Regions from separate parts of the Homo sapiens genome. Here regions 1, 2 and 3 are each linked to region 4. The links are contacts of gene promoters, found by promoter capture Hi-C in blood cells and fetal thymus (Javierre and others, 2016). All regions are on one chromosome and are shown on one strand. Each heading gives the region's core, a stretch centred on a gene start or on the middle of the fragment in contact. The rest is flanking DNA. Distances are from core to core; before and after follow the strand shown. Region 1 has its middle 14 kb from the start of SLC22A11. Region 2 has its middle 36 kb from the start of SLC22A11. Region 3 holds the start of LOC124902690 (a long non-coding RNA gene). Region 4 holds the start of NRXN2 (neurexin 2).

Region 1 (6,577 bases), core at 1,276-3,775, 180 kb after region 4:
CAGGCCAAGAACATCTGGGTAATTAACAGCATCAGGGTGAGCAGATTGACTGTGCCCCACCCTCCCTCCACCAAACACCACTTGGCATTGAATTCCATGTTTGCCTGGAGGTCAAGGTGCAAGAACAGCTAAATGGAGTTCTGAAACTGCATGGTAGGCCAGAGAAAAAGGGCAGCACCCCAGGCAACTTAAGGATCCCATGGGGAAGCAGAACCCTTTACTCAGAAAATCAGATCCACCAGTGCCTCCTGGCCACAGGCCTCTTTCACTTGCCCACACGTCACAATCACTGTAGACAGGGTTCTCCAGCACAAAGCTTTCATGCATGGCTAAGCCAACAGGAATTCCCACTTAGCCTGAGGAAGGACATTCTAGGAAACAATTTTGTCCATATCCCTCCCCCCACCATCTTCAAATATGAAGAGGCAACAAAGAAACACTAAAAATGCAAGAATCCAATGCACCAAAAGAGAGACACCAAACTCAACAAACAAAAGAACCAACACAGGAGGACGATGAAGTAATGCAGTAAACAGAAGAAAAAGGTAAAACCGCTGTAGTTTCTATTTCCAGGGAAATTTGAGAGGACATCAATTTTTTAAAAGAAATAGGTTCCCGAGAAAAGGAAATCTTTTCAGTTTTGGAAATTGTCAACTTGATGGGCAAATTCTGAAACCACTAATTAATAGATTGAATAATGAGGGGAATACAGTGACCTGGAAGTTCATGACAAAGGAGTTTCCTGGAACCCAGTGCAAAAGCACAAAGAGTTGAAAAGGAAGAAAAGAAAGGACCTCTGAGCTGAAGAAGATGGAAACGTTTAGACTGCAACATCCCAGTAGCTTTGGGTAGCAAGGATGAAAAATTGGCACATGCCTGGTGAAATGTCTAAACTCCAAGAATGGAGGTAGGTTTGTACATTAAATGTCCACCATAACTCTTGCAATTTATAGGTTACCTTGGCCTTCATTCATCTTTTTCCTTCCCTTCCCTTCCCTTTCCTCTCTCTCTCTCTTTCTTCCTTCCTTCCTTTCTTTCTCTCTTTCTTTTTCTCTTTTTTCTTTCTTTTTCTTTTCTTTTTTCTTTCTTTCCCCTCCCTTCCTTTCTCTCTCTTTCTTTCTTTTTCTTTCTTTCTCTCTTTTTTCTCTTTCTTTTCTTTTTTCTTTCTTTCCCCTCCCTTCCTTTCTCTCTCTTTCTTTCCCCTCCTTTCCTTTTCTTTCTTTCTTTCTTTCCTTTCTTTCTTTCTTTCCCCTCCCTTCCTTTCTCTCTCTTTCTTTCTTTCTTTCTTTCTTCTTTCTTCCTTTCTTTCTTTCTGACAGGGTCTTACTCTGTTGCCCAGGCTGGAGTGCAGTGGTGCCATCATGGCTCACTGCAGCCTCAAACTCCTGGGTTCAAGCAATCCTCCTGCCTCAGCCTCCCTAGTAGCTGGGACTACAGATGCAGCCACCATGCCCAGCTAATTAAAAAAAAAAAATAATAGAGATTGGGTCTTACTATGTTTCCCACGCTGGTCTGCAACTCCTGGGCTCAAGTAATCCTCTCTCCTTGGCCTCCCAAAGTGCTAGGATTGCAGGTGTGAGCCACTGTGCCCAGTCTCATTCATTATTTCAATCAGCAGATCTTTATTGACAGCCTGAGAGCTCTGCCAATTCCTATGCAGGTAAAGGAGAATAAAATAGACATAGACCCTGACTTCAAAAGCCCCATCTAACCGGGGAACAGATGAGAAAACAGGCAACTGTACAGTGGCCGAAACACTGGCACAGAGTCCAGCTCTGCCTGTTACCAGCTCAGTAACTTCGGGCAAGTGACTGACCCTCTCTGTGCCTCACTTTCCTTCCATGTAAAATGTATAATAGTAGTTCCTGTCTCGTAGGTCGTTTTGAAGGTGTAAGTAGAGCACTTAGGACAGTGACTACACACAGTAAAAGGAAGCACTAAATAAGAATTGGATAAATATGGAAAGACCGTGGTAAATGTTAACCACCAGGGATGTGGGAGTGTAACAGCAGTGCCTGACCCTCCTCGAGGGGTCCAGAGAGCTGCCCGGCCGGGCTTGGGCATCATCGTGCTGTAAGGAGCTTCCAGACCCGGGTTCACTTGAGCGGCCGCTGCCGCCTCCCCGGGCCCGGGGCCTCCGCTGTCCGCCCGGTGCATGTGAAGGACATCAGGCTGCTGCCCCGGGCCCTCGGCTTGTCGATTCCTGTCCGGGTAATGCTGACAAGGACTGCGGTGTCACCAGGGCCCGGAGGAAGCTGTCCCAGCACGCCAGGGATTTCACAAGCGATTAGGTATTTCTGCTCATCCACACCCTGATTTCTTCTTAGCATATCACCCTTTCTCAGCCCCCAACGCCTCAGGCCAGGGCCAATTGGTGGGCGGGGAGGGCCCTGACAGATGAAAATGACGGGGTGTGGGGGCTGCTGTGTCCTTCTGGAAGGGCGGCAGGGGAGGTGGCCGTGAGGTGGGCTGGGACAAGGGGGTTCGGGCCATGCTCCCTTCTTGGGGTCTGCCCTCAGGGACACGGGGGGTGGGGAGCAGAAGTGCCACCTCTGCATGGGGGTCCTGGAGGCAGGGAGATTTGAATCTAGGTTTCTATGAGGCCCTAGGAGGACAGACACAATGTTCACTCAATGATTCTCTTCTTCCCTTGAAGGATTCTTTTACGGAAGCAGGAGCGGGGAGAGCCACAGTGATGCCATTTTAAATTCGGCTCCATTTCGACACAAACAGGGACATTCTTTGCCGGTCGTGACTCAGTCATAAGATAATTACATCTAGGGACACAGCCTGAAGATACCTGCAAGGACATGCTCCTACAACAGCAGAAAGTCCAGATGTCCCAATGCCCATAACAATATATGCTTTCAAAAAATTATAGTTATGCTTTGATGTACTCACACACGAAGATGTCAAGGATAGCTTTCTTAAATAAATAGAATAATTATTGTTGTCATGCTGTCAGCCCAGCCACACGTAGGCACAGCTTAGTTTAGTCTTTACACAGATAAGACCCCTGTATAAGAGAAACTTAAGGACGGGGCGGTCCTCTGCTTGCTTTCTGAGGGTGCTCTACTCTGGAATGGAGGAGGGGTTTTTTTGTTTGTTTTTGTTTTTGTTTTTTGTTTTTTGTGTTTTTTTGAGACAGAGTCTCACTCTGTCGCCCAGGCTGGAGTGCAGTGGCACGACCTCTGCCCACTGCAACCTCTGCCTCCAAGGTTCAAGTGATTCTCCTGCCTCAGCTTCCTGAGTAGTTGGGATTACAAGCACGCGAGCCACTAGCCCAGCTAATTTTTGTATTTTTAGTAGAAATGGGGTCTCACCATGTTGGCCAGGCTGGTCTTGAACTCCTGAACTCAAGTGATCCACCCGCCTCGGCCTCCCAAAGTTCTGCGATTACAGGTGTGAGCCACCACGCCAGGCTGGGAATGGAGGAGTTTTAATAAACTTGCTTCTTTCACTGCACTCTGTGACTTGCCTTGAATTCCTTCCTGTGTGAGATCCAAGAACCCTTGCTTAGGGTCTTGATCAAGACCCCTTTTCTATTATAGTCACAGTTCCACTTCCTGACTTCCTCCTGCTTCTAGAACGATGAATATGGAAGGCAGATGCTCCTCTTGAGGGGTTGGACATGTGGTCGGGAGACCTGCAGCCAGGGCGGCATAGGGACTGGCAGCCAATGAACCCAAGTGCCAGACGGGTCCCATCGTGCATAGGATGACCTGACACCTCTGGCCACTGAGGCCTTGGGTCAGTGACTTTGGCCCCTAGGCAGGGCACCCTGCAGAGTAGGGGCCTCCAGCTGTTCACAACGCGGGCAGAACAGAACCTGGAGCCGAGGGGACAGCTTGACCCCAGAGCCTTTTGGGAGACTGAGGACAGGACGTCCCAGCCCAGCAGGACCCGGGCACCTCTGGGCTCTCTCTGTCGCCACCAGGGAGCCCTCTCCCTTGGAACTTTGTCCCTAGGACCTTGTCTTCTCGTTTCTTCATCATCGACCCTTTCCCTAGGACCTTGCTCACCGTCCTCTGAGTCCTGGGTAGTGTCAGTTCCAGGCAGAAGGAGAAAATCCCCCAGGCTGGCCATGCCCAGGAGGATGGGGTCAGTGATGGGAGGGAGTGGGGTGAAATGTTCTTTAGGGGTCCTCAGATCTTCAGAACCGGGGGTGAGTTTATATCTGACCCCTCCTCTGCCACTGTCCTGAAAGGAGGGTGGGTGCCTTCTCCAAATGCCCGGTCCTGGAGGGAAGCCTGGTGGCGCCTGTTATCACATTTAGTGACCAACACTCCCCTAACTCTGCCCTGGAAGGACAATAACAGTCACACTTCGTGCTTCAGCTTCCCTGGCCTGGGGACACCAGTCACAGCAGCGGCCACCCTAGTCTCAGGAGAGGATTTCCACCCCCAAGGATGTTGAGTCTCCCTCGGTGCCCACACAGCAGGGGCCCTGGTGGAGGCTGCGGCCCCCATGGCAGCAAATGACAAAACAACTCTAAGAGGCTCCAAGGCACCAGCACCAGGCAGGGCCAGGCCTGTGTTTCCTGCAGGGCACACGTTGAAAAGGTGACCCAGGGACACAACCGCAGCACCGACAATTGCCCTGCAGGGCGTAAGGGCTGAGACGCTGGGACCCCGGTGGGAGCTCATAGCACAGACCCTGGGCCAGGCAGCCACGTTCAAACCCTGGCTCTGCCACTCACCGGCTGGGCAGACTCAGAGCAGCTTGCTAAGCTTACTGTGCCTCAGTTTCCTAATCTGTAAGATGGGAACATTGGACTGATGGCATAGTTGTGAGGATGAAGTGAGGCCACATCAGAAAAGCACTTAGGGGAGTACCCGGCCACAAAGGAAGTGCCATGTGTATGCTTAATCAACTCACATCTGTTCTGGGGTTCCCAAATCCTCCAGGCCACCATAGCCTGAGAACAAGACACAGTCACAAAATAATGCATCCCTGACCCAGCAGGTGATCCTTGTCTTGCCTCAGAGCAGCATTTTCCAAACCTGTGTCATTTACATACCTTTGTGACTCCTGCCATATCTTCAGATCACATGTACTATTATCTAATTCATGGTTTTCTCTCGGCGAACTGACTTCTAAATCATTTATGTGCCCCAGAATGTCTACAGCAACGACCACAACTGGAAAACCAGGATCACTCGCCACAAATAGAAGAAAACTGTAAAAATATCCTGTGCAAATGAAACAAATGTGACAGTTCTGGCTGGGTACCTTCGCCTGCCAAGGGAGCTGAGCTGAGGCCAGCATTCTTTGTTTTTAAGAATAAGGCATTGCTAGTCCCAGGAGGCAGATTCTCCTGCTCGAGTGACTTAAGGGGGCTGAAAGAAAATTGCAAAGGGGGCCAGGCATGATGGCTCACACCTGTAATCCCCCCACTTTGGGAGGCCGAGGTGGCAGGATTGCTTGAGCCGAGGAGTTCAAGACCAGCCTGGGCGACATAGCAAGACCTCATCTCAAAAAAAAAGAAAAAAAGAAAGAAAGAAAATTGAAAAGAGACTAAGCATCCTGCTGTGTGAAGGCACATTGAACTCCTCTTCTACCGCTGCTCAGAGGATCCCTGCCCCACAGGGCTATGTGGGGAACCCAGTCTGTCAGTAAAGAACGTTTGCTGAGCCCACTGCAGCCAGGCCCTGGGTCAGGCCACACCTCACCTGATGAGGGCAGGGCTTTTACCCAGAGGAGAGGCCGGGGCAGATGGGGGCTTCCTGGGGGCCTCTGGCTACAGGCCCAGCCTCCTGCTGCCTCTGGTTGGGGGAGGGGACATCTGGGCTCTGGACTTGGTAAAATAGAGCTGGGTCCCTGCCCTGTAGTTCTGGGCACTGAAGGGTATGATGTCTCCCAGGGCGAAGGGCAGTGCCAGGCTCTGCCCCACCCTGCTCCTCCTGTCGCCTCAGGTCCTCTGTCAGGATAGGGCAGACCCCCAGACGCCCAGACCCCCACGACATCCTGAGGCTTCTCTCCACCTCTGCATAGCCCCCCGCCCCCCTCTGGCTCCGCCAGCGTGGCTTCACGATCCACCCACCCACCAAGCAGAAGGGGCTGTGTGGATGGTTTTGTGGAATCTAAGAAAACCAACAGGTGCAGAATAAATAATGGAGCCAGGACTTGAACCCAGATAGTAGGAATCCAGGGTCCAGTGATCTGGAAAGCAACTCGAAAAGGTGGGTGAGACTGAGGACCCCTGGGGCACTGGCCGCCCCGCCCTCCCTGCACACCTTACGTGGGTGCCAGGTGGTGACAAGCACACCAGCTCCACCAGGTGCAGGTAGAGGCTGCCGCAGTGACATAGGGCAGGCATGCCAGGTCCCGCTTCACCCGCAGCAGGTGGCCATTTCGCCACACAGCCTGCAGGGCCCAGCGAGGGTGACCCTGTGCTGGGGGCATGCTGAGGACGGCCGGGTGCCCCAGGACTGTGTCCCAAGGCAAGCCCAGGGCAGTGAGGATAGTGACAGTGAAGGGACAAAGGGCAGATCACACAAGAAAACGGAACCCCTCACTGCCTGCCATAACCAGCACAGGAAGCCACAGCCTCCACAGCAACGTCCCAGATGGCCAG
Region 2 (6,264 bases), core at 1,538-4,037, 200 kb after region 4:
GGCAAGAAGTACTTTAATTGTTTGGAACATGCTAGCACGGAAACCACAGTTCAATTTGTTCTGCAACAGCAAATGACTTTTTTTGTGACAGAAGCTAAAAGCAAAGAGAAACCACAAGGAGTTCTGCTTCCTACCATATCAAGGACTTAATATTATGAAAATAATAGCAACAACAACGAAAACGAAGCCTGTAAACATGCTAGATTAAATGCCACAGACATTCTTTGAAATGCATAGCTGGGCTTGCAAGAACGTAAAAGTACTCCATGGAACAAACAGGGAAATGGAAGAGAAAGCCTGGGCAATTAGGAGCAAATGGTTTTTGTGGAATTGAACAGAGGTCTTGGTTTTAAGATCCCCATGGGGATGGGAAATAAGGCCTGGAGCCCACGGGAAGGGAGGAGATGAAATGACAGCCCCCTCCTACCTGTAAGCCTGGAACCCTTGAGAGGCTGCTTCCTTCATGAAAGGTGGGCTAGAACAATCCCACCTACAGCAGATGGTCAAGTCTCTGCATGGCCAGCTGGGAAGGCTTGCCCGGCTGTGGCCAAATACGAGAGAAGAGACTACGGAGAAGACGAGAGGGAAGAGAGGGAGGGGAACTGCAGGTTCCTGCTAACGTGCACCTACAAACCTGGGAGCACATGCCTGGGGGTGGATGGAGTGTGCTGGGCAAGATTAGGGGTGGAATAGTAGGCCAGGAGGGGGAGAATTTACCAATGAAGGGGCACCGTCCCGTGACTCAGGAGTCTTCATCATGACAAGGGCAGCTTGAGCTGTGCCTAATGCTTTACTAGGCTGCCATCTTGAGATTTAGCAACAATGGCCTGCAGTAGATGAGGAAGAAATGCTGGAGTTACCTTGGCAGATTTTGATCAAGAAAGGGATCAAGTGGCTCAGAAGGTGCACGTGTTACAATGAAGTTATGATGGAAGACTGGAGAACTTACTCCCTGTGTATGTTCCCAGGGAGCGCCAGAGGACTCTGCTTGTGAAGACTGTAAGACATGCACCAGTGAAGGAAGCCCCGGCGGCGTTGCCAAATCCGGTTGTGGTCATCATCTGCAGTACAGGATTGATGACGGGAGGCTGCTATAGAACTGGCCTCCCTAGTGTCCACGGAGAAGAGAGGATCCCAAAACGGCAGAGACCATGTAGCACTCTTAACCCTCAGAGGCAAGATGATGCCATTACCAAAATGTGCAATGAGGGTGGAAAGGTCACCAGGAGCCTGACATTCAGGGCTCTGTGGTAACGAATAATAGGCTGTGTTCTGGCCGGGCGCAGTGGCTCATGTCTGTAATTCCAGCACTTTGGGAGGCAGAGGCGGGCAGATCATGAGGTCAAGAGATCGAGACCATCCTGGCCAACATGGTGAAACCCCATCTCTACTAAAAATACAAAAATTTCCTGAGCGTGGTGGTGCATGTCTGTAATCCTAGCTACTCGGGAGGCTGAGGCAGGAGAATCGCTCGAACCCGGGAGGTGGAGGTTGCAGTGAGCTGAGATTGCGCCACTGCACTCCAGCCTGGCGACAGAGCGAGACTCCATCTAAAAAATAAAACAAAACAAAAAAAGACTGTGTTCTCTCTAGAGGCAGGGTAGGTGGGCAGCCAGTGTGCTTATTTGACTTATGTAACCAAAAAAGGATAAGAATGTGTGAGCAGAAGGCTGAGGCCAGCCACTTCAATGGAAACATTATTATCTCTTCGCCAACTTCTAGGTTCGTGCTAGTTCTCAGACTCAGAGCCTGCGGATTGAAGGGAAGAAAGGTCCTCTTGAGGAAGGATCCTGAAAGCCCACACAGTAGGATTCTCCCAATCCCTCTGCTCTGCTTATTTATCAGAATAGCTTTTATAGTGGGGAAGGAGGATGCCCAGATTTCTCAAGGACTGATGGATACGTGTCAGAATTGACACTGGTCCCAGAGAACCCAAAATACCATCGTGACCGCCCCCATTAGAGTGGGGTCTACAGAAGCCACGTGATAAATGAAGTTCTGGCCCAAGTCTACCTTTCAGGAAGCCAGTGAGTCTGGAGAACCATCTATGGCCATTTCTTTAGTCTCTGAGCACATGTTTAGGCTGGAGACACTTACAAGATGGAAAATCAGAAGCAATACTAAGTCTGAGCATCATGACAGAGATGAGTGTCACCCTTATTCACTTAGAGGATGCAGAGAATGTGGTCCCTAATATATCCCTCTTTAATTCACCAGTATGGCCCTTGAAAAAGTCATCTGAATTGTAGCAGATGATGATGGACTCTTGTAAACCCAACCGCATGGGAGCCCCAAGTGCTGCTGTTGTGCCATGTACAATGTCTTCAGTAGAACAGATCAGCACAGCCTTGGAATTCGGTGTAAAGCTGTTGATCTGGTGTGTGTACCCTCTCAAACCCTATCAGGAAGATGTATCTAAACTGATTTGCACTTACCTGGAATAGCAGCAGTACACATTTACAGGGACCTTAATCATCTGGACATCCCACAGAACATCACATAGGGATGCTACACTGAAGATGCCATGCTAATCAGACCTGGTAAGCAGGAAGTGGAACATACCCTACATGCCCTTGTAAGGCACCCATGCATTGCAGAGAGTGGGGGATAAGCCCTAGAGTGGTTCAGGGGTCTGCTATCTCAATAAAGATCCAGGGGTCCATCCTGGGTAATATAGCAAGACCCCATGTCTAAAAAAAATTTTTTAAGTAGCTGGGCGTGGTGGTGCACACCTGTGGTTCCAGCTACTTGGGAGGCTGAGGCAGGAGGATCACTTGAGCCCAGGAGGTCAAGACCAGCTTGGACAACATAGAGAGACCCCAATTCTACGAAAAATTTTTAAAATTAGCTGGGCATGGTAGCGTGCACCTGTGATCCCAGCTACTCCAGAGGCTGAGGTGGGAGGATCCCTTGAGCCTGGGAAGTCGAGGCTGTAGTAAGCTATGATCACGCCAATGCACTCCAGCCTGGGGAGCAGAGCAAGACTCAAAAAAAACAAAAAAATCCAGTGGTGTGGGTCATTCTGAGACATTCCCTTCAAAGTAAAGGATGAGTTACGTCATCTTGTATTTTCCACCACTAAGGAAAAGGCACAGACCTTGGTAAGCCTCTTGGGACTTTGGAGATGATCTCTTGTCATGGCACACTTGGGAATACTGCTCCAACCTCTTTATGAGATGACTTGGAGACTGCCGGTTTTGTTGGATCTGAGAGCAAGAAATGTCTCTCTCTCTAGAAGGTTCAGGTGCCAGATAAGTAACTCTGCCACTTGGGCTGCATCTTTTCACATCCTGCGGTGCCAGAGCTGCCCGTGGCAGAGAGGGATGCTGTGGAAAGCCTGGAAAGCATCTGGAAAGAATAGATAGGGGATTCACGGTGTGGACGCAAGAACCAGGCAATACTGTCAGCAGCAGAGAATTGGTCACCACTGAAAAGTAGTTCATAGACAGACACTCATGCCTGGCACAGGACAACAGTGACTCCGTGGTAGAGCTGCCCATCTTGAGCTGGGCATCACCAGGCTTGCCAAGCCGGAGTGTTTGGCCGTAATGAAAACAATCCACTGAATGATGAAAATGGAACAGTCAGGAACATGCCTGAGCAGGTCCTAATGGTATAAACAGGTTACACAAACAGGTGGCCCAGACCCCATGTCACCCATCTCTGGCATCCCTGCCTCTCTCAGCTCACACCTCACCTGGCTAACAGAGGCTGGGATCCTCTGGGTCTCATTCATTGGCTTGATATATTGGAGCAAATAAAAAACTTGATATATTGGCTTGATATATTGGAGCAAATAAAAAATGGATGCTGCCTCACTCCAAGCCGATCCAGCCAGCAGAGCTTCAGGCAAGCACCTGGTTATCCACTTAGGTAAGGATGTACACAGACTCTGGGCAATGGTAACTGATTGGGCTGGTTCGTCAGAGACTTGGAAGGAACGAGATTGGAAGATCAGAAAAAAATGGCCTGGGAAAGAGTGATGGGAATGAGCAAATGGGAGTGAGCACATTGTCTTACGTCAACACCACCGCTGGCCCCCTGAAATTATCAACTGCAGATGAAGCACTGAAGAACCAGATAGAAAAGGTGACTCAGCCAGCAGAGCTCAACCAGCCTCTGCCCACAGCCACCTCTGCACTTGCACAATGAGTGTGTGCAAGGAGTCGCCACGGTGGTGGGTTGGGAGACCGTGCATGGGTTCACTCCATCTGTGCCTGGAGTCCGGCTCACAAAGGCTGATCCAGCTTCGGCTAAACACCTGCGTGTTCAGGAGCAGAGACTAACGCTAGGCCCTCATTATGGTGTTGTCCCTGGAGGAGACCAACTCGCTATGTGACAGCAGCTTGGTTGCATTTAATCCCCCTACACTGGAGGGAGCAGCAAGCCCTCTGGACCAGAATTGACCCCTACTCCAGGTAGGATTTTACCTTGCCTGACTGCAGGGCTCCAGCTAGTACTCTGGACTCATGTGAGTCTGCGGACTCACGGGGTGTCTAATTTGCCATTATGGGATTGCAAATAACATGGCCTTGAACTGAGAGAATCAAATTACAGCAAAATAGTTGTGATGATGGGCAGGACAAGAGGACCCACTAGGGTCTCCATCTAAGCATCTGCCGGCTGGGTGGAATGTTTGGGGAAGAAACCAGTTTGGGGAAGACACCCTAGGGCACTGGGACACTGAGTTGGAAGGTGCGATCTATACTCTGAACCAATGGCCACCCCATGGTGTGTGTCCCTTATAGTGAGAGGACCCAAGGGGTGAAAGTAGGGGTGGAAGTAGGGGCGGAAGCTCTCACCATCATCCGCAGGACTCCCTGGCGAATTTGTTTCCCATCTCCACGACTTCAAGCTCTGCTTGGACTAGGGGTGTTATTTCCCACTGGGGAAGGGGAATGCTTCAATGGGGACATGTTAAGGACTCCAGTTAGTAGGTGGCATTTGGTGAGGGTGGTTGTATGCTGCCATGTAATAGGAGCAGGAAGGACTTTGTCTGAAGACTGAGGAATTCGCTGCAGCCCCTCCTGGTGCTTGGTATGGTAATAAGTCTGAACGGGCAACTGCAGCAGCCATGGCCTCGCCAGGTGTGGTGACCAGGGGCTCAGACACCTCAGGGATGAAGTCTGCATCACCCCACCAGGCAAGCCACCAAGACCAGCAGAAGTACAGGCCCAGGGTGCAGGGAATCCAGAATAGTTGGTAGAGGAAAGAGATAATGAATGTCAGGTATGGCCCTGGGACCCACTGAGGCGGCAGGGACTGCACTTCGTCCTGCTAATATTCCGGTTGTATTATTTTTTCTTTTTTTGAGAAAGGGTCTCACTCTGTCGCCCAGGCTGCAGGAATGCAGTGGCACAATCACAGCTCACTGCAGCCTCCACCTACTGTGCTCAAGTGATCCTCTCACCTCAGCCTCCCAAGTAGCTGGGACTACAGGTGTGCACCACCATGCCCAGCTAATTGTTTTATTTATTTAGTGGAGACTGGGGTCTCACTATGTTGCCCAGGTTGGTCTTGAGTTCTTGGGCTCAAGTGATCCTCCTGCCCCAGGCTTCCAAAGTGCTGGCACTACAGGCATGAACCACCACACCTGACCTGCCTGTTATTTTTTAGAAATTGTGATAGGCCACAACCTTGAAGAAGCAGGGATGGAGCAGAGTCAACTTTACTTGCAGCATGAGTGCATCTGAGCTGTTCAAGGGGTGAATGATGGCAGATGTTCCCTTAGGTGCCCCACCCAAGTCTCCTCAGCCCTCACTGTTCCAGTGCATGCTGGTGGCATCCTTTTCAAGTGTCTGTCTAAAGGCTCTGTCCCAATGCACAGGGAGAAGACTGGAAGTGCCTGGAAATTAATTCCCCTGCAACATCCTTGCAACATCAGCCAATGATGAAAAGAAGTTTGAAAATAAATACCTCCAGACTGGAATAGCCCCCATGCATGTTCTGCACTGTCTCCAGAGTTCCTCTGCTTTGCATTTCTGTGGCTCACATTGACACTTGCTTGGTAATGCATCCATGGACTTCCTTTACTTTCCTCTTTGGACTTTTACTGTATAGTGTCTACATTCCATTTCACCAATTCTCTCTTCAACTGTGTTCAGTATGTTCTGCAGTCTATACATTGAGTCTTTAATATCAATAATAATACTTTCAGTTCTAGGAATTCTATTAGCTTTTTAAAAAATGTGCCTAGTTATGTTTGAAGTCTCTTATATCTTACTCATGTTTTCAATCCATCTTTTATTTCTTTTAACAGTATAA
Region 3 (7,048 bases), core at 4,114-6,613, 220 kb after region 4:
CAGGGAGGGTGAACAGTTAGGTCTCAAGGCGGAGAACAGCTCAGCAAGAGATGAAGCTGGACTAACAAATTGGTGGGAATGAAAGGGACCCCATGAACAAGCTCCTGAGGCTAGAAAGACCTCGTCAGAGCAGAGCCGTCAGTGGCGTGACACTCCAATTCTCCATCAAGCATGGGAAGAGGAAGCTGAGGGCCCCATGGTGGATAAAACCCACATAATCACACAAATAGATGCAAACCTCCAACTGCGGCCATTGCTACAGAGCAGAAGTTCAGGAGAACAAGGTTGACAGGGGGCTTTGGTGCGGCCAGGGAGGTCAGAGACACTCCCTCAGGAAGCGATGCATGAGCCAAGGGCCTCAGCATGAGTAGAAATTAACAAGTGAGGAGGAGGCCAGCAAGTTCCCAGCAGAAGGGATGGCATATGCCAAGGCCCTGTAGATGGTCTCATGGCTTCAGACGCCGGCCACACCCAGTGACTCCCAGAAGCGCACCTCCAGCCCAACCCCACCCCACACACCCCCAGACCCCAGAATCATACCAATGGTCTACCTGATGTTGCCACTGGAATGTTTAACGGGCACTTCACACTCAAGGAGTCCAGTCCTTGATCCCCCGAACCCCTGCTGCCCCTTATCTTTCCATCTCAATCATGGTGGCACCATCCACCTGGCAGCAGATAACCTGATGTGATCCTTAAAGTCTCCCTTTTCTTCTCCCTGCCACTTTAACAAGATACCCCTGAAAGCCAGGAGTGTCTGGGAGCCTGCAGCTGGCAGCAGCCCTCAGAGAGCCCAGCTGCCTTGCTTCGAGGTGGGATGAGCTCTGGGACATCGTTAAGGCTGCAGAGTGTCCTGCGGGATCTGGCTGGGGCTCAGCTCTCACCTGAGACTGCACCTTTGTGTGGTTTCCTCCTGATCCTGCTTCCCCCTGTGAGGAAGGTTACTCTACCACTTGCACAAGCCGGGTGAGACAGAACGCTCACACTGTAAATTAAGAAAAGCAACTTTATTATTCGCGGATCGGCATCAGGGGACAGCAGGAGCCTAGGGTCCCTGCTCCCCGACAAGGCTCAGGCAAGCTGGCCAGGGTGGGTAGAGTCCATCTGCACATGCCCTAGGCAGCACCACAGCCAAGGGACGCCAAAAGATGCTCCACTCTAGGTTTTATACCTAGGGGAAGTTGACTCACTGAGCACAAGTGTTGCAGGACATCTTGTTCTAGGAGGGACAGGGAGAGACCTTGGACTGTTCCAGCCAGTTCCTTCTTATCTCAAGTTGTTGCACTCCCAGCACAATCAACAGTTATTCTGAAAATGACAAGCAAGAAAGTGGGGAAGAGCTGGGTGGCCAAGGCCATCTGGGATTTGTCCTGCATGGCTACTGTCCTTCCCATTTGTCCTGCAAACACTTTAATAAATCCTTTGCACATGAGTCCTATCTCCTGGTTTGCCTCTGTGACAATCTAAAAACCCCTCATCTGATCTATTACCAAATCTTATGCTCTGTCTCTGAGATATTTCTTGAATCTGTCCACTTCTTCCCATCTCCATGGCCAGCACCCTGATGCAGAGAACTATCAGTGAACAACTGCCATGGCCTCCTCAAGGGTCTCACTGACTTCTCTCTTCCTCCTCCACATTCCCCACTGAATCATGCCACTCCCTGAAAGAAACCACTGCTCTCACTGTAGGTCAGCCAGGATGGTCTGCCTAGGTTCCTCTGATACCCCCTCTGCCATGGCAGTATCTGGCCTGTCACAGTCATTGCAGCATCCCCTGGCTCAGTGCCTGGAAAGAATGAATTCAGTCTAAATGACCCTTAAAGAAGTACCCTTTAATTCCCTCTAAAGCTGAGGGGGCCGGAGCCTGCATAGAGGGTCAGTGCAGAGTAGGCCAGCCACCAGGCCAGCTTCCTTGGAGTGCATGACCCCCTGGTCCATATTTGGTTGAAAGAGGAGGGTGATGTGATGGTTAAGTTTATGTGTCAACTTGACTGGGCCACAGGATGCCCAGGTAGCTGGCTAAGCGTCATTTCCGGGTGTTTACATAAAGGTGTTTCCAGAAGAGATGAGCATTTGAATCGGTGGGCTGAGGATAGCAGATAGTCTCCCTAATGTGGGCGGGCAACATGCAACCTGTTAAGGGCCTGATGAGAACAAAAAGGCAAAGGAAGGTTGAATTCCCTCCCTGCCTGACTGCTCGAGCATCAATCTTCTGTCCTTGGTGCTCCTGGTTCTCATACCTTCAGACTCAGACTGGAATCTGCACCATTGACCATCAAGCTCTCAGGCCTTCGAACTACACCACCAGCTCTCCTGGGTCTCCAGCTTCTGGGTTTCCAGCTCTACCAGGTCTCCAGCTTCTGGGACTTCAGCTCTCCTGGGTCTCTAGCTCTCCTGGGTCTCTGGCACTCCTGGGTCTCCAGCTTCTGGGTTTCAAGCTCTACCAGGTCTCCAGCTTCTGGGTTTTCAGCTCTTCTGGGTCTCCCACTCTTCAGGGTCTCCAGCTTTCCTGGGTCTCCAGCTTGCAAACAACAGACTGTGGGACCTCTTGGCCTCCATAATCACATGAGCCAGTACCTTCTAATACATCTTTCAGCTAGATGATAGGCAGTTAGATAGAGATACAGATCTAGATCATACATATAGATATTGCGATAGTTAATTTTTGGTGTCAACCTGACAAAATTATGAAATATGAAACAGCTGGTAAAGCATAATTTCTGGGTATGTCTGGGGATGTTTCTGGAAGAGACTTGCATTTGAATCAGTAAGCTGAGTAAGGAACATCCACCCTTACTCAGTGTGCAGGGAGCACCATCCACTTGGCTGAAGGCCAGGACAGACAAAAAGGCTTGGGAGGGCTCAATTTGCTCGCTCTCTTTCTCCTGGAACTGGGACATCCTTCTTCTCCTGCCCTTGAACATCACAACTCTAGGTTCTCTGACCTTTGGACTCTGAGACTTGCACCAGCAGATCCCCGTTTCTCAGGCCTCTGGCTCCTACTGAAAGTTACCCCATTGGCCCCCTGGTTCTCAGACCTTTGTGCCTGGACTGAGTCACGCTACCAGCTTCCCTGCTTCTCCTGTTTGCAGATGGCATATTGCAGGGCTTCTCAACTTTTGATTACCTGAGCCAGTTCCCCTAATAACGCTCCTCTCATATCTATCTATCTATCTATCATCTATCTATCTATTTTTATCCATCTATCCCTCTATATATATTATGTACACATCTATCATCTATCTATATCCCATTGGTTCTGTTTCTCTGGAAAATCCTGATTAATATAGACATAGACATAGACGCAGACATAGACACTGACACAGACACAGATAGACACAGACACAGACACAGACAGACACAGACACAGACATAGACACAGACACAGACCTAGATGCAGACGCAGATGCAGACAAACGCAGACGCAGACACAGACACAGACGCAGACAGATACAGACGCAGACACAGACACAGACAGACACAGACACAGACCCAGACCTAGATGCAGACGCAGATGCAGACGCAGACAGACGCAGACGCAGACAGACGCAGACGCAGACACAGACACAGACACAGACACAGACCCAGATCCAGACGCGGACGCAGACGCAGACAGACACAAACGCACATGCAGACGCAGGTGCAGGCGCAGAGGCAGACATAGACAGAGATGGAGACGCAGACACAGACATAGACATACACACAGATCTCCCATGTTGGTTCTGTTTCTCTGGAGAACTGTAATGTGATGGGGAAGGTCCATTAAGCCCCTGAAAATTGCATGCAACATTTCACCTGCATGTACACTCTGTGTCTTCTACTGTCCAATAGCTTCCATCAGGTCTTCAAAGGGCTCACAATCTTCCATATAAAAGGAAGTAATTCACATTGGAGAGGGTCAAGAAAAATGTCCCATCATGTGTTGGCCAGTATTGATCTCTAGGCAGAGAAATTAGAATGTTATTTGATATATTTGGTTTTTAGTTATTTATTCATTTATTCAACTAAAATGTAGTGACCACTAAAACATGCCTGGCTCTGTGGTGTTCACTGCAATTGAGACTATGAGCTCTGGTGTCAGACTGCCTGGGTTCAAATCCTGGCACTGACATTTACTGGCTGTGTGATCTTAGGCGAGTTGCTTAGCCTTTCTGTGCCTAGGGTTCCTCATTTGTAAAATGGGTTTATTAAAACTTTCTCCAAGGGTTGTTGGAAAAATGTAAAGTACTTGAAACAATGTCTGGCGCAGAGTAAGTACTCAATAAATATCAGCCAGGCTTCATTAATTTAATTCATCAAGTAAAAATGTACTGAGCACCTGGTATATGACAGGCACTGTTCCAGGTGCTTGGGATATGCCTGTGAAGAAAATGGTAAAAATCTCTATGCCCGTGCAGCTGACGTAGACATAGACACAGACATAGACACAGTCCAATCGGGGAGACAGGAATAGAAAATAACCATAATCCAGAAGTAAATTACCTAGCTTGCAGGAAGGTGGTAAATGCTATAGGAATAAGACTAAGCAGAGTAACCGGGAGGGGGATCAGGAGTGGTCGGAAGTGCAATTACAAGTGGGGCGGTCAAGGTCAGTGTCGTCAAGAAGGTCGTGTATGAGTAAAGACTCAGTGGTGAGGGAGTCAGCCATACAGATTCTGGGAATATGCATTCCAGCAGAGGAAAGAGCCAGTGCAAAGGTCGCAAGGTGGGAGGTGTGGTCGATGAAAAGCAGGAGGACAGATGGGAGGTGGCAGAGTCATGGGTAGTAGGAGGAGACGAGGTTAGCATTCCACACCCCAGTGCACTGGACAGATAGCAAAACGGAAACAAAGATAGAATTGACTTTTTCCCTTTTTATATGTTTTCCAAATTTTCTTTAATAGGCATTTTTAAGCTGGGCAAGGTGGCTCACTCCTATAATCCCAATACTTTCAGAGGCTGAAGCGAGAGGATCGCTTGAGGTCAGGAGTTCAAGACCAGCCTGGGCAACAGAGGGAGACCCCTGTCTCTACAAAAAAGTTTAAAAATTAGCCAGTCATAGTGGAGCATGTCTGTGGTCCCAGCTATTTGTGAGGCTGAGGTGGGAGGATGGCTTGAGCCTGGGAGTTTGAGGCTGCAGTGAACCAAGATTTTGCCCCGGTACTCCAGCCTGGGTGACAGAGTAAGACCCTGTTTCAAAAAAGAAAAAAAATTTATATATATATATGTCAAAGCTTGGTACGGAAATCTTTTTGCAATAAAAGAAGTTTTGGAGTTGTGGAACAAAACTTTCAATATCCTCTAATATCGTCCTTCACTTTAGCCTTTTCAGGAATTTAGGATCTGGGACACAGGGCATTATGTGGTGGGGGCTCCTGAGCAGCACAGGCTTCTGTCCTCTCTCCCTTACCCACAAGCAGGCCCAGCCGGCCCCGGGAGCCTTTAGGGCAAGGGTCCCCAGCCCCTGGGCCACAGACTGGTACCAGGCCACACAGCAGGAGACGAGCGGCTGGGGAGCTAGTGAAGCTTCATCTGTTCTTACGGCCGCTTCCCCGTTGCTCACGTGACCACCAGAGCGCCACTCAGGTCAGATTAGTGCCGGCGTTAGATTCTCACAGGAGCACGAACTCTGCTGTGAACCCCGCATGCAAGGGATCTAGGCTGTGCGCTCTTTATGAGAACCTGATGCCTGATGATCTGTCGCCGCCGTCGCATTGCAGGAAAACAAGGTCAGGGCTCCTACTGATTCTACATTATGGTGAGGGGTATAATTACTTCCTTATATATTACAACGTAATAATAATAGAAATAAAGTGCACAATAAATGAAATGCCCTTGAATCATCCTGAAACCACCCCCACCCCCATCCCCCACCATCTGGAAAATTTGCCTTCCTCCAAACCAGTCCCTGGTGCTAGAAATGTTGGGGAGCGCCGCTTTAAGAGCCTCACAAGAGATCAGTCTTGAAGACGCAGTTGGGGTCACGTGACCCGAGTCCGCCCATCACAGGGCTGGCCCCGGGTGCCATTTTGAGAGCGTGCTCCTTCCTTAACTCCTCCTGGTGGGGCTAGAATTTGGTGGATTGGGTGTTTATTTGATGAGGTCGCAGCATTTGGGTCTAATTTAAAACTTAGGATGTTCTTTAAATGTTTCATTTCTTCTTTGGTTCATTTCCATGATGCTATGCCACCAAAGGGGAGCCTCTAAGGGATTTTCCTTCCAAAATGTTGTATTTTGCTGGAATTTTGCAATTTCTTTGTTAAAGAATCCACCCACTCTTCCATTGCTCTGCATTCTTTCTGAAAGGACGTATACCTTGTGCGTCCAGTGAGACCTGAATCATTGTTAAAGTTGGCCAGAGACCAACAGCCTCAGGGGTGAGTATAGCTTGGGCACCCGCCCCCCCACCCAAAGCTCTGAAGACAGAGTGGGAGCTTCTTGTGGCCGCCCCCACCCCAACCGTCCTTCCTTTGTGGCGTCCTTCTGGTTTATTCTTCCACACACAGCACTTGTTCTTTCCTGTGACTGTTGGGACACTCGTAACCGTTTATTTCCTTGTTTATTATCTCTCTCCCCCACACACCCAGGCTGTACACTCTAGGAGGGCAGGACCCCATCCTCTGCTCCCCACACTGTGCACCGTGCCAGGCCTTTGCTATGGGTGTGTTTTATGAACAAATAAAGCGCATCTTCTCTCACTGGGGAAAGGTGAGGAAGCGATTCTTCCGCCTTTAATGGGGCCCTTCTCAGCCTTTCTCCCTTCACATTCTTCTTCAGCGAGCTGGGGAGACACCTGACCATAGACGGGGCTAAGATTCCCCATTCCAGGAGCTACTAAAGCCATCCCCAGGGTCGTGTTTGAAGAAAAAGCCAATGAGGACTGTTCTTTCCAAGGCTGTGGCCCACAGGGGTGGTGAGGCCAGCAGGCAGTCAGAGGAACAAGTGTCCACCCACAGTGCCAGCCCCAGCCCACACCCTAAACCAGGAGCCCTCAACACGGGCAGAACCCGGAATAGGTTTGGAGACTTCTGGAGGCATTTTGTATCACAGTGACTGGGTGAGGACAC
Region 4 (6,702 bases), core at 3,197-5,696:
TACTTGGGAGGCTGAGGCACGAGAATCGCTTGAACCTGGGAGGTGGAGGTTGCAGAGAGCCGAGATTGCGCCATTGCACTCCAGCCTGGGCGACAGAGAGAGACTCTGTCTCAAAAAAAAAAAAAAAAAAAAAAAATTGGGCTGTGAGGTCATGCAGGGAATTGATTTTTGGTGGGTGGGTCTGCTTCTGGGATGATGTGGATGCCTCCCGTGGAGAGGGGAAGGGTTGATGAAGTCCCAGGGACCTGGAAGTGTGTTCTGCAGCAATCCCCCTCCCAGCAGAGATCCGTGAGGAGGAGGTACAGACGGTGGAGGATGGGGTGTTTGACATCCACTTGTAATAGATGGTGAGTCCTCCCACAGCTGGCACCAGAGCTCCCCACTGAGGGCTGGGGGGGAGCTGGGGAGTATCAGGGAAATGGGTGCTTTATCCAAATGGCTCCAAGCCAGGTGGGCTACTACCTTGTTGTTAGGGGGGTGTCTTCCTCACAACCTGTTTTTCTCTTCCCAGCTGTGGTTGGATCAAGGACTCATTCCTGCCTTGGAGAAAATACTTCAACCAGAGCAGGGAGCCTGGGGGTGTCGGGGCAGGAGGCTGGGGATGGGGGTGGGATATGAGGGTGGCATGCAGCTGAGGGCAGGGCCAGGGCTGGTGTCCCTAAGGTTGTACAGACTCTTGTGAATATTTGTATTTTCCAGATGGAATAAAAAGGCCCGTGTAATTAACCTTCACCATCAGCGCCTAGAATCCCGGGGGGTAGGGGGATGGTATACTTTACAGGATGACAATCTTGGGAGCTAGAACTTTGTAGCCAGAGAAACTTGGGAGGTCTGGAATCTCATGTGTCTGGAGTCTTGGGGAAGAGAATCTTAGAAGCAGAAAACCTTGGAACATAAGAATCTTGGGGAGGGTCTAGGATCTTGAGGAGACCAGATCCTTGGACATCTAAAACTTGAAACTAGTAGGTCTGCACCCGAGAATTGCAGGGCCAGTCATGCATACCCAAAGCCTTCAGCCCATGGCCGAAATTCCCTTGCTGGACAGGGGGCCTTTCAGCCCCTGCTTGGACGCTTCCAGTAACAGGGCCCTCACTGCAGGAATCGTGGGAGGGAGAGGGGCAGCACAGAGTTGCTGGCTGTCGGGGAAGGGAGGGAGGGCCCTGGGCAGTCCGAGGGCCCTGCTGGGCTTGTGCCTCAGGGTGGGGGCTGCACTCCTCCGCCTTGCAGCCTCCTGGCCTGGTGCTGCTGCCAGCCGGAAGGACAGTGACTTCCAGAGGAAATGCATATTGATCCTGCTTTCAGCCTCCGGTGGTGGCTTCTCCCAACCCAGCTCTTCCCTCCTGAGCCTGCAGCACGGAGGTTTTGGGGGTCACTGCTACCTAAAGAAGGCTAAGGCCACTTCTGAGGCTGGTCTGGGAGTTTACTAAAGGTTCTGAAGCTGGGCCGGGCTGCCCCTGGGATCAGGAGACTCCAGACAGCAGTCCTGACAATGGGAACTACCTCCTCAGTCCCCCAAACTGGGAGGTGTCCCACAGCAGCTGTAGGATTGTCCTAGGGGTGGAGACCTGAGCACCTTCCACTCCAAAGCACAGTATCTGTGGGCCTGGCAGTGGCCTCAGTTCCCCCATGAGTGCCCCGGTCCCCCACCCCAGGGTTTCCCCACATCACATCCATCCCTGCTTTGAGACCCCACTCCCCCTGGCCTGTTCTTTATTTTGGGTCACTCCCTTCTCTTTCCTGGTCATATCTCTCCTGCAGGCCTACCCTGTGTTGGGCCCCCCAGCCCTGTCTCTGCATCGGGTGCCCCCCTGCCCCTCCTTCTGTCCTCAGCCCCCTCCGCCCTTCCCCCTCTTGAGGCTGTAATATCCGTTTCACGATTTGGGGGCTGAGTTGCTATAACAACAGACGGCGATTGTGTTGTGAAGAGCAGCTCGCTCCTGTGCCGCCTGCCTCCTGTGCTGCCTCCATCCCTGCAGCCCAGTCGGTTCCTCTTGGCTCCTCTCGTCACTACCCTCCAGTTCCAGTCTGGCCTCTTCCTGGTGTGTGTGTGTGTGTGTGTGTGTGTGTGTGTGTGTGTGTGTATGCATGCATGCATATGTGTGTCCAGGTCTGCCTGCCCGGGATGTGACAAGTAGCGGTCTTCATGGTTGCATGTGTCTGAATTTGGTGTCTGAGCTTCACATTGTATGCGCCTGTGTGCATGTGTGTGCATGGACATGCATGCTGTATCTGCTGTGTTTCCCCTCCCCCATGTGTCCCCACTGGCCTTTGCACATGGGAGAAGGGCATGTGCTCAGCATATCACTCAACTGTCCACATTGGGTGGGTACCTGTGTGTGGTGTGTGTGTGTGTGGGGTGTGTCTTGAAGTGGCAGGTCCCAAATGCTTAGGCAATCTGAACCTTGGACCTTGCAGAGAGGAGAGATGTCCCTGTAGGTGGGAGGGACAGGGAGATGCAGCAGCTGCCCGGTGACCTTTTCTGCCCTTGATGGGCAAAGCTGGGGGTAGGGAAAGGAGACAAGTGCTCATACTTACCTCCCTCCCTGCCCAGGCTCCTCTGTAAGGGTCTGAGTCTGTCTCTGTGAGCCATTGCATCTGTCTGTCTATGCCCTGATGCCTGGATGGACAAGGGGTGTGTGTGTGTGTGTGTGTGTGTGTGAGTGTGAGGAGGCTGCAGGAAGAGGAACAGTGGGGGATGGGCAGGAAAGTGGGCTGTGGGGTCAGGGAGGCGATTTCGCATTCATAGGCCCTGACGCAGCAGTTCCATTCTCTGGCTCCTTCATTGGCTTTGGTGGGGATGCCCTGGGGGTCTCTCCAAGGTCAGAGTGGGCCCTAAGTCTGGGACCTGGCTTAGGGATCACCCTTCTCGACTCCTAGGAAAAACTCCTTGCAGCCTGGGTCCCCCTCTTACCCCTTCACAGGCTGGGGAAGGAGTTTCCCACCCGGGGGGTTGGTGTCCGCATTAAGCCACTCAGTAATTGACCACTCTCTTTGAAGTGCCTGGGCAGGGGTCCAGGATGACTGTGGGCAGGTCCCCTGGGTGCAGCTGTTCTGGGCATGCATTAATTGCCTGGTGTAGGTACCTGTGTGCACAAGTGTGTGTGTTCTTGGGCAGTATATGCTTCCTGTGGGTGTGTTACCATGGTGGGGCATTTCTGCAGGTGTTCTTATGTGTCTCTGGGAATGCCCAGTGTTCACAGATATGTGTGCATGGCTGTGAGTGCCCCAATGTCCATGCATTGGTGGTTGAATGTAAGTGTTCTTGCATGTTGCCTCTGGCTAAGGAAGTGCCAACTACCACCAGCTGTGCAGATCACAGACCCTGCAACAGAAACCAGGGTCCTGGAGTGAGCTGGCAGAATGGTCTGGCACACATACACACACACACTCTGTCTCTCACTGTCTCATTCAGCAGCCCAGTGACCAACCTCGGGGTATACACACTAAGTGCCAGTGTGTGTACACTTTTATTGGCGGAGTGAGTGAAGGGTGTCCCCCAGTCCCCCACACTCATACACATGCACAGTGATGCATGTACCCTTACAGGAGAGACCTGCGCCCCCCAGCACCACTCTAACTGAAACTCATGGATGGGAGGAGGAGAACAGAGAAGGGGGCTGCTGCCAGGTGCCCTCAGTCACCAGGCATGTGCAGGCGCAACCCTGCCCCCACACCTACTCGTACCTCGGTCCAGGGTTCCAGGCAGAACTGAGAGTTTGGCCTCAAACTCTGGGATTCCCATGAGGCAGGACTGGGAAACCCCCAAGTTCCTAGGTCTACCCCGCCCCCATCTCTGCCTTTCCTTCCCCCACCGCCTCCGTCTTTATCCCAGCAAAGCCCCTTCCTCTTCAGTTCTGGGGGCTCCAAGCCAGGGGCCCTCCGGACGGTGGGAGGTGGGGGCCAGGCTACCGACTGGAAAAAGCCCCCAGCAGCCATGGACCCACCGAGTCCCCCTTCTCTAGGCTCCTCGAAGCCCGGGCCCGCCCCTGGGGGTAGCCAGCAGAGGGCGCTGCGGCCCAGGCCCCGCATCAGCCCTGCTCTCGCGGCGTCCCAAGTCGGGGTCCACAGCCTCTCCTTCGGCTTGTCCCAGCCCCGCGCTGCGCGAAGACCTGCTGGCCGTGGGGGGAGGGTGCGGGACCCAAGGCCCCGAACTAAGGGGCGAGGGGCGAGGGGCGAGAGTGCTTGGGTTCCCGGAAAAGACACTGAGGCCGGGTTTGGGGCCCGCCTGGTTGGGGGCCCGGGCGCCCGAGAACCTCGAGAGGCTGGGAGGAGCGCGGGTGCTGGGGCCGGGACGCCTGGGTCCCGCGCGAGGGAGGGAGTGGGCCTGTGGAGCCGCTGGACTGGCGGCTTCTGAGCCCTTGCATTGGCTGCGCTGCTCGCCCGTCAGCGCAGCGTGGTCCAATGCGCGCGTCTCGGGGGCGGGCACTGGTGCTGATGCTGCCGTCAGTCGGTGTTGCAGGGATGCGGCGGCGGGAGCAGCCGCCCTGACTCGCGGAGCATCCTCCTCGGAGAGGCACCGCGGCGGGGCGGGCGGGCGGGCGGGGACGCGGCGGGGAGGGAGAGAGGCGCGAGGCGGCAGACACCGCTAGCCCTGGCTCTGCCACCCGTCGGAGACGGGGCGGCCCTGTAGCTCTGCTACCCACCCTCCAGCTTCTGGCGCCCCGAGAACCAGGTAAAATGGGGGGGGGGGGGCGCTGCGGCGGAGACGGGCGGGGGGCGGGAGCCGATCGGGGGAGGGGAGCGGATCGGAGGGGGCGAGGGAGGCAGGACGGATGAATTGGGGGGCGGGGGCGCCGCGCTGAGAGGGCTGGCCCGGTGACAGCGAGGAGGCAAAGCCGCTGGGGGCTTGGGGGTCGGAGGCTCCTGTGGAAGGGGCACTGGCCCTGAGAGCTGAGGAGAATGGGGAGGGGTGGGAGGAAGGGTCTTTGGGGGAAGGGATGGAGAGAGGAGGGGCATCCAGAGGACTTAGAGGGGGTTCTTAAAGGGGGGTCCCCAGTCTGTGCTAGCCCCAGAGGCTTGAAGCAGCGCCGGGCCAGAGGAGCTGTTGTGTTCTGGAGGGTCTAACCAGCGAGAAACTGGGCTTCGTGGGAGGAGAGGAGAGGGGGCTGGAGAAGAGAGAGAAGTGGAGAGGGAAGGAAAGGGGCCAGGCCAAGGGCTTCGTCCTGAGGGGACCCACTGAGGACCAGGCTTTCCTGGGGGATGGGAGCCAAGGGGAGAAGAGGTTATTGGGAGAGAGCAGAGGGGAATGTGCCAAGGTGCTCCAGGCAGAGATGGGTCTGTGCTGGTGGAGAGCTGGGAAAGATGGGGTCTGAGGGAGAGGAGCGGAAGCTTGCGGGGGAAGGCTGGGGGTGATGAGACAGGGAGACTGGGAAATCAGTAGGAGGGGGCTTTGCTGGGGTGGGAATGCGCTGGGGGCGGTGACAGGGTTCTGGTCAGAGAGTGCTGCAGGGGGAGAGGAAGCTGCAGGGCCCTTGGCTTGCTCCCCCACCCCTAAAGAGGAAGGGACCATTTCTCATGTCCCAGCCTCCTCCCCCAGCTGAAGCAGCAATCTTCCCTGGGGTCTTTGGGTTGGGGTATGAGCCCTTGAACCCTTGATGGGCTTTTGGGGCACAATTGGCTTTGGGGTGCTGTTGTCTCCTTTACTCTCACCCCCCTCCTGAATCTTGGGAGAGGGCATTCGATGCCTCATTGAGCTAGCAAGGGCTGGGAGGGGCTTTTTCTTGGTGTCTGGAGGTGAAGGAGGAGGCTGTCCACCTGGAATAATGAAATAGATTTTTAGGGGGTGGGTCTTGGGTCCCCAGTCCCTTGGCTGCCCTGGGGGCTTCCAGATAGCCCTGTTTTTTCATGTGTTGGCGGGTGGGCGTCTCTCCTCTTCCATTCATTCTTATCCTTCCCTGTTGTCTACCTTCCCAGTGTCTGGGTGTTCCTTTTGGAGGAGGGTGGACATTAGGGTCTTACTTTCTCTGTCTTCTGCCAGAGAAGGAGAAAGAAAGAAGGGAGAGGGAAGGAGAAGGGGAGGGAGGTCTGCAGTCTGCTAACTGTGAGGCCTTCTGTTTTGTGGGTGCTTCAGCCCCTCAGTCCCTACCTCCTCTTGCTTCCAGGGATGGCTCTAGGGATGCTGGCATCTGAGGTGTGGCTGGATCTTTTGGGAGACAGGGGAGAAGGGTCTGGCTGGGGGCTCTTCATTCATGCTAGAGGAAGTGTTCTCAGACCCATCCTATCCTCAGATCCACAGGGGTGGGCGGGATGGACCAACCAGCCACGGCTGCCGGGCAGTTCTTTCCAGCCCAGGCCTGGGCTGAATCCATATGACATTGGAGTTCTGAGAGGAGGGGCTGGGTGCGCGAGTGGCTGGTGGGGACCCCTCTTTCCTTCCAGGCTCAGTCACTACCCAGGTCCAGCTGCTCCCTCCCGCTTACCCTTGCCAGTGACACAGACACTCTGACAATGATACACGCGCTCGGTGGCACCCACCCAGACACACACCTACACAGGCACACACACCTGCGTACACAATACACCTCCTGGCAGCATACAGCCCACACTCCCCACCCAGAGAGGCTGCCACCTCATGCCTGCCTCCTTGAGACCTCCCCCAGGTGCCTTGCTGCCATGTACACAACACACACACGGCCACTACGTGCCCCCAGAGCCCCCAGCGCAGCACTGCCAGCCCTCACCCTTGGATGCACACAGCCCCCA

Evidence for each region. The method cuts DNA at HindIII sites, captures the fragments that hold promoters and counts their contacts. A CHiCAGO score of 5 or more calls a contact.
Region 1: a fragment that was not itself captured here is called in contact with the fragment with the promoter of NRXN2 in region 4 in 1 of 17 cell types (M0 macrophages); the score reaches 7.3 in M0 macrophages.
Region 2: a fragment that was not itself captured here is called in contact with the fragment with the promoter of NRXN2 in region 4 in 1 of 17 cell types (M0 macrophages); the score reaches 5.7 in M0 macrophages.
Region 3: a contact is called between a fragment that was not itself captured here and the fragment with the promoter of NRXN2 in region 4, in 4 of 17 cell types (M1 macrophages, M0 macrophages, megakaryocytes and 1 more). The highest score is 8.4, in M1 macrophages.

Annotation. Positions count from the first base shown.
Region 1 is chr11:64,538,570-64,545,146 of GRCh38, reverse strand. No RefSeq gene overlaps it. Among named protein-coding and RNA genes, the nearest start is that of SLC22A11, 14 kb to the left of the region's middle. RefSeq lists an enhancer at 4,625-5,163. The HindIII fragment of the contact is 4,414 bases long and covers 319-4,732 here.
Region 2 is chr11:64,516,998-64,523,261 of GRCh38, reverse strand. No RefSeq gene overlaps it. Among named protein-coding and RNA genes, the nearest start is that of SLC22A11, 36 kb to the left of the region's middle. The HindIII fragment of the contact is 8,566 bases long and covers 1-6,264 here.
Region 3 is chr11:64,499,331-64,506,378 of GRCh38, reverse strand. It overlaps LOC124902690 (a long non-coding RNA gene), which reads left to right and starts at 5,485. Exons shown (of 2, transcript XR_007062721.1): 1 at 5,485-6,358. The HindIII fragment of the contact is 292 bases long and covers 5,218-5,509 here.
Region 4 is chr11:64,720,941-64,727,642 of GRCh38, reverse strand. NRXN2 (neurexin 2) reads left to right here and starts at 4,446. Exons shown (of 23, transcript NM_015080.4): 1 at 4,446-4,672. RASGRP2 (RAS guanyl releasing protein 2) reads left to right here. Exons shown (of 17, transcript NM_001098671.2): 16 at 283-347; 17 at 512-732. The coding sequence ends at 341. RefSeq lists enhancers at 1,508-2,346, 3,556-3,605 and silencers at 3,986-4,285, 4,272-4,566. The HindIII fragment of the contact is 9,459 bases long and covers 1-5,330 here.